Regions from separate parts of the Homo sapiens genome. Here region 2 is linked to region 1. The links are contacts of gene promoters, found by promoter capture Hi-C in human tissues and cell types (Jung and others, 2019). All regions are on one chromosome and are shown on one strand. Each heading gives the region's core, a stretch centred on a gene start or on the middle of the fragment in contact. The rest is flanking DNA. Distances are from core to core; before and after follow the strand shown.

Region 1 (3,383 bases), core at 490-2,989:
GATCACAAGCGTGTGCCACCACGCCCGACTAATTTTTATATTTTTTGTAGAGACGGGGTTTCACCATGTTGGCCAGGCTGGTATCGAACTCCTAACCTCAGGTGATCCACCCGCCTCGGCCTCCCAAACTACTGTGATTACAGGCGTGAGCCAGGGAGCTCGGCCTTGTTATATCTGGTTTTTGTTTTTTTGAGACGGAGCCTCGCTCTGTAGCCCAGGCTGGGGTACAGTGGCGCGAACTCGGCTCACTGCAACCTCCGCCTCCCGGGTTCAAGCGATTCTCCTGCCTCACCCTCCTGAGTAGCTGGGATTACAGGCGCGCGCTTTTTGTATTTTTAGTAGAGACAGGATTTCACCATGTTGGTCAGGCTGGTCTTGAACTCCTGACTTCAGGTGATCCGCCCGCCCCGGCCTCCCAAAGTGCTGGGATTACAGGCATGAGGCACCGCGCCTGGCCTGGTTTTTAATTACGAAGAAAAAATTACTATAGTCCCTTTGGTATCACCTACATTGGCAAAATTGCAGTCCCCCTCCACTCCCTGAAGCCACCAGAAATGACTGCTGTTGTCTACAAAGCCTACAGCTCTGATTTCATCTCAAGATGTGTCCTACTGGGTGACAGCAAATGCCATTTTTTAAAGGCTTGTATCTGTTATAAGCTTGGGAAATATTATCATGGCTTAAGAGGCTCTTTTGACAAAAGAAAACACTGTTCCCTGAAATCACCTGGGCTGTTCACGGGAATCTTTTCCTCGCCCTTCTGGTACTTGGACAAATGATCAAGGATATCAACAAATCAAGGTTCCCCGCATTTGAATGATCACAGAATTTTTGCGTGTTCTGTAAATGGGCTAAAACTACTGGAAACTGATTTCTTTTCGTCATCTCCAGGGCAGCTTGCCCAACGTGCCGCGACTATGATGTCTTAGACTTAACTACTTAAGGTAATACAATTACCAAATTCCTGGAAACGCAAAATTTCCTCAGACAGGTACCGGATTATTCACATCCAACCTGATGCAATTAACCACGTCTCAAGAAAAAAGGACGTTCCGTCCGCCTCGGGCGCCGGCCACAGCAGAAGCAGCACCGGCAGCAGGCCCGGGGTCCGCCGCCTGTGGCCCCTGCTCCTCCGCTCTGCGCCCTCGGGGCCACTGAACAACGCTGTCCCCGCCCCAGGCAAGGGACCCGGGCGATGGGGCGGCAGCCCCAGCCTCTCCCGGAGCGGCGGAAAGGCAAGCACGAGGGTCGCACCCGGCCTGTCTGCACACAGTCAAGCCGCAAGCGGGGTCCCAGAACCAGCTGAACCCCAACACCAACGGACGAAGGCCAGTGGGTCTCGGCGGCGAAGCCTGCGGGTTGTTCCAGAAGCCCCGAAGCCCAGAACGAGGACGGCGCGGGAAGGGAAAGGCGCAGGCGCGGGACACACTGGAGGGGCCCAGGAGCAGAGACGGCGCAGGCGCTGGGCCTGCCGGGGTCTGCGGGGACGCCCGGGCGCGGCAGCGCGGGCGGCGCTGAGGCGATAAACCAACCCGCCAGCGAACACTGCGGGAACCCGGCTGCTGCTCTTACCGCGCTGCACCGCATCGCTCCCTCGCAATCTCCTGGTTTGGGCTGGGCGGTGAGCTCACCCGGTGGCTCAGCCGAGACCCGTTGAGTCCGGCCTCAGGAAAGCAGCCTACCCCGCAGCGCCGCTTGCCGGGCCGCCCGGCCTCCCTCGCGGGCCCCGCCCTTGGCCAGCCCCTTCGCGCCCAGCAGGGCTGCGGCCGTCTGCGCAGGCGTCGTGGAGGCCCCGCCTACATTCCTTCACTGCGCAGGCGCCGCCGTCCCCCACCACCACCCCCTCCCCTTCCCCCATCTCCGGCTCGCGTCCGTCTCGGCACTGGGTCGCGCAGCCGCTCTGCCACTTGGCCGGTCAAGAAAGTAGCCGGCCAGCCGGTGCGCATGCCTCAGGTCTTGGGCTGGAGCCGGGCAAGGCGGGTCCCTTCAGAGGCCCCACTGGGCCCAGCGGAATGATGCTCAGAGTCCGCTAGTCCCAAAAGTTCTCCTCAGCGTGTTTACCGTGTGCCAAGGACTGTGCTATGCATGAGCCAGACAGCAGTGAGGAAAACACAAAGCCCTGTCCTCCTGGCACTCCCGGTACATAAGGGAACAGACAAAAAGAATAAGCGAGCAACATATATGTATATATATATGTATATACATATATATATACGTATATATATATACGTATATATATATGTATATATATACATATATATATACGTATATATATATGTATATATATGTGTATATATATACATATATATATGTATATATATATATATATATATATAAAATATTAAAGAAATTCTGGGGGAGTTCGAGTTCCATCGGCCCCCATCCGGGCCACCCTGCCACCTTAGCGGCTGCTCCTCCCCAGAATGCTGATGCCTAAGAAAAACCGGATTGCCATTTATGAACTCCTTTTTAAAGAGGAAGTCACGGTGGTCAAGAAGGATGTCCACATGCCTAAGCACCTGGAGTTGGCAGACAAGAATGTGCCCGGCCGGGCGCGGTGGCTTAGGCCTGTAATCCCAGCACTTTGGGAGGCCGAGGCGGGCGGATCACGAGGTCAGGAGTTCAAGACCAGCCTGGCCAAGATGGTGAAACCCGTGTCTACTAAAAATACAAAAATATTAGCCAGGCGCGGTGGCAGACACCTGTAATCCCAGCTAGTCGGGAGGCCAAGGCAGGAGAATTGCTTGAACCCAGGGGGCGGAGGTTGCAGTGAGCCGAGATCGCGCCCCTGCACTCCAGCCTGGGCGACAGAGTGAGACTCCTCTCAAAAAAAAAAGAATGTGTGTGCCCAACCTTCCTGTCATGTAGTCCCGAGGCTACTACGTGAAGGAACAGTTTGCCTGGAGACATGTCTACTGGTACCTTACCAATGAGGATATCCAGTATCTCCGTGATTACCTTCATCTGCCCCTGGAGATTGTGCCTGCCACCCTACGCCGCAGCCGTCCAGGGACTGGCAGGCCTCGGTCTAAAGGTCTGGAGGGTGAGCGACCTGCAAGACTCACAAGAGGAGAAGCCGACAGAGATACCTACAGAAGGAGTGCTGTGCCCCCTGGTGCCGACAAGAAAGCCGAGGCTGGGGCTGGGTCAGCAACCGAATTCCAGTTTAGAGGCAAATTTGGTCGTGGACACCGTCAGCCACCTCAGTAGAATTGGAGAGGATTATTTTGCATTGAATAAACTTACAGCCAAAAAGACTTAAAAAAAAAAAAAGAAAAAAATTGTATTATGTCGCAAATGAACCTGTTGCAATGATCATACAGGTTTTTTCCTTTGATAGTTTGTACTACTTTAATAGTTTTTTCTTTTATTACATAATCTTA
Region 2 (3,383 bases), core at 259-2,758, 260 kb after region 1:
TCCAGCCTGGGCGACAGACCAAGGCTCCGTCACACACACACACACAAAAGCTATTGAATAATCATGAAAAAGAAAAATATCTATTCATTTCTGACTCCCAGCCCAGCAGCTGCATTTCCTCAGATAGCAGCACATTCACCAGGCTTATTAGTCTAAGCTAATAAGTTTCCAAACCCCTTAGAATATAGTTTCCATGGCCTCAGAACACGATAAAGAGTAGCACACCTTCAGACCTCAGCACCCTGATCCAGAGTGATAACTGGGGATGTTTCCTGGCCTGGAAGGTGGGAAGCCTATGTCTTAAGCTCAGTGGTGGCAGTGCCCTGGCTGTGTGACTGACTTGACATAGATGTCAGTCTCTCAGTCTGTTTCCCCTCATGTATGAGGCTTTGTACTAGATGAGGGTTCTGCAAGCTAACCAGCCCACCCTTTTTGTACAGCCCACGAGCAAAGAATGGTTTTTACATTTTTTCATATTTGGGAAAAAAAATCATGACACGTGAAAATTATATTAACAATATATAAAATTAAAACTTCGGTCCCTATAATTAAAATTTTATTGCGACGCAGCTAGTCTGTTATGTATTGTCTTTGGCTGTATCCACACTACATCGCTACAGTTAAGTAGACAGAGTATGGACCCCCCAAGCCTAAACTACTATTATGAATACTATTATACTCATTATACTTACAATATAACAATGTAAACACTGATATATTTACAACAAAAGTTTGCCGACCGCTGAACGAGACTGTTCTAAGCATATTCTATTTCTAACCACAATAATCACATAGAAAGAATCTTAGCCACATGGAATCCGACGGTCCCACACTTATAACCTGTAATAACCCAGGTCCTGAAGAGTTAAGTGACTCCCAAAGCCACTTGTGCAGATACCTTGGGAATGCCAGGTGAGTTCCATCTGGCCAGGGCCCGCCTCTTGCGGGGAGGCAGTGAAGCAGAACGGTCAAAATTTTCAGTCTGGAGTCGCGCTCACCCACTGGGTGACTTGGAGCAAATCATTTCACCTACCCGCGGCCTCAGTTTCCACCCCTGTAAATGGCACCAATAACAACACTCACCTCGCAGGGCTGCTGTGAAGGTGAAGCGAAAGGTCGCGAGTAAAGGGTTAGCGCGCTGGGCTTTGCACCCAGCAGACGCCAAATCAATGGTGGCTCCTGCGGTTACTGGGAACCTCCCCGGAGGCCGGAACCCATTCTAGGCACCTCAGGGCGGCGGCGAGAGCCATGAAGAGGCTCGCGAGGCAGCCAGGAAGCCCGGCCTCGGTTTCCCTGACTGGGGCTCTAAAGCTGCCCGCGAAACCCCCAGCTTCCTCACGTAACCCAGCCTCGCGCCTGCAGCCCCTCCGGCCTGTGCCCCGGGCTCTGCTGAGCCTCACCCCCACCCCGGCACCGCCTTCAAACCAGCCTTCCAGGAACTCACCAGGCGTCTCCACAGCAACGGCCAGTCTGTCCCGACCACCGCGCCGTCCGGCTGCGCGCCTGACAACAAGGCGTGCTCCCATTGGCTCCGGTGCCGGTTGTGCCAGCCAATCAGCGGGGGCGCACGCGCCGCTCGCTCTCCGCGGGCTGCTTAGCTGGGGCCCTGCAGACGGCTACCCTTGGGCGGCGCGCGCGCGCGTGCGCGCGTGTGTGCGCGTGTGTGCGCGCGTGCGCGTGTGCGTGTGCGTGTGTGTGTGTGTGTGTGTGTGTGTGTGTGTGTGTGTGTGTGTGTTGCGGGAGTGGAGCTTGTTGTTTCCGGATCCCCGTCGTCAGTCCTAGCGTGCTGGAGGCTTAGAGCACCAGCTCGTAGTCGGACTCTCTTCTCCACAGCTTGCACCCTGAGCAGTCACTAAATGATGGGCTGTGTGTTATTACCTGGGACATGTGCTCTGAAAACAGTGGAAACTTGGGGAACACTTAGAGCGGGGTGTCCAATCTTTTGGTTTCCCTGGGCCACGTTGGAAGAATTGTTTTGGGCCACACATAAAATACACTAACACTAAGGATAGCTGATAAGTTAATAAATAAATAAATAATAAAAATAAAAATCACCAAAAAATCTCAAAATGTTGTAAGAAAGTTTATGAATTTGTGTTGAGCCGCATTCAAAGCCAAGCAGACCAGCGCGTTGGAGAAACTTGACTTAGAGGGAACCAGGGAGGAGGAGCATCCTCATTCATTATATTACCTGTGCCTCTCTTTCCAAAAAGGATGTGAAGCCCAAAAGGAACAGATACAATAGGATATTGAAACAAAAGGAAAAAAAGGAACAAAACCTAGTAAATGAACAAGAAGAGGGGTCATGGGTGGTGTCAGAATTCCAGAGATGAAAAAAGGCGACAGAGTTGAAGGGGTTCTGTCAAGGGTCTTGGGCTGAAAGATGGTACTCTCTTGGGAGCTAGAATAACAATAAAGCATTGTAGGGAAGAACTTTACACTGTGGTTGAATTCATAGCTGCTTGAGTCTTGCACAGATGATTCAAATAGGAGTGAATGTTGGGGGCTTTTTAACCTCAAAGACAGTAACAGCATGGTGAAAAACTCAGTTCAGTACAATAAAGCTATACTGATAAGCTAGAAGTTCTGAAAATTGTTGAGTCACCAACCTTGACTTTGAGTATTGGGGTAAACAGTATTTGGGGGGTAAACAGAAGCATAAACAGATGGTTTCAAAGCTGCATGGATAACCTTCAGCCTCGGATACAGCTTCCACTCAAGCCTTATCATGAAAGATGCGCTGGAGAGAAACAGTTGAAAATAGGTGGGAAGGGTGGTCCAAGCAGCAAGAAAGTTGTGTGGGGAAGGTCCGGAGGTGAGAAACATGCAGATCATGCTGGAGTGTCATGCAGCACAGTGTTACCGTGAGGCAAAGCTCAGGGCCACAGTGGGGAGAGAGCACTCTGGAGAGTTAGGAAGAGGCCAGTCCAAACAAGCAAGCAGAAAACATATTGTTGCAGTCTTGCCCGTGCACCACAATGTACCAGTCTCTCATTGTGGGGTATCACCCAGAATTCTTTGTCTCACGACCAAGAAAATTAGGGAGTGTGGACACAAAGGGTAAGGTTGAAGCAAAAGTTTAATAAGCAAATGAAGAAAGCTCATTGCAGCTGGCGGGGGGCCCAAGCAGGTTGCCCATTATGAGGCTGGGTCAGGGGGTTTTATGGACTGGGAAAGGAAGGAATGTACTGACTGGTCTTGGAGAAAGCACTACTCAGCTTGGCCCCTGGACCTTGAGGGACCAATCAGGAGCTGAAGTGATAGCCTGGCCCAGGACCAATCAGAGGCTCACATTCTAAAGCACGTCCAAGAAAGGAAAGTGCCCACTGGAACCCACTGTAGCCCACCGTGTACATGTCCACAAAAGGAGAAGAGACTATTTC

What was found. Contacts are between HindIII fragments. The study calls those that stand out against the background at their distance.
Region 2: a contact is called between the fragment with the promoter of CABIN1 here and the fragment with the promoter of SPECC1L-ADORA2A in region 1, in 2 of the 25 tissues and cell types used here (dorsolateral prefrontal cortex and heart right ventricle).

The regions. Positions count from the first base shown.
Region 1 is chr22:24,269,173-24,272,555 of GRCh38, reverse strand. SPECC1L-ADORA2A (SPECC1L-ADORA2A readthrough (NMD candidate)) reads right to left here and starts at 1,739. Exons shown (of 20, transcript NR_103546.1): 1 at 1,573-1,739. SPECC1L (sperm antigen with calponin homology and coiled-coil domains 1 like) reads right to left here and starts at 1,725. Exons shown (of 17, transcript NM_015330.6): 1 at 1,573-1,725. It also overlaps the pseudogene RPS10P29. RefSeq lists an enhancer at 1,267-1,346 and a silencer at 1,407-1,936. The HindIII fragment of the contact is 12,728 bases long and covers 122-3,383 here.
Region 2 is chr22:24,009,429-24,012,811 of GRCh38, reverse strand. It overlaps CABIN1 (calcineurin binding protein 1), which reads right to left and starts at 1,508. Exons shown (of 37, transcript NM_012295.4): 1 at 1,445-1,508. The HindIII fragment of the contact is 7,958 bases long and covers 1-3,383 here.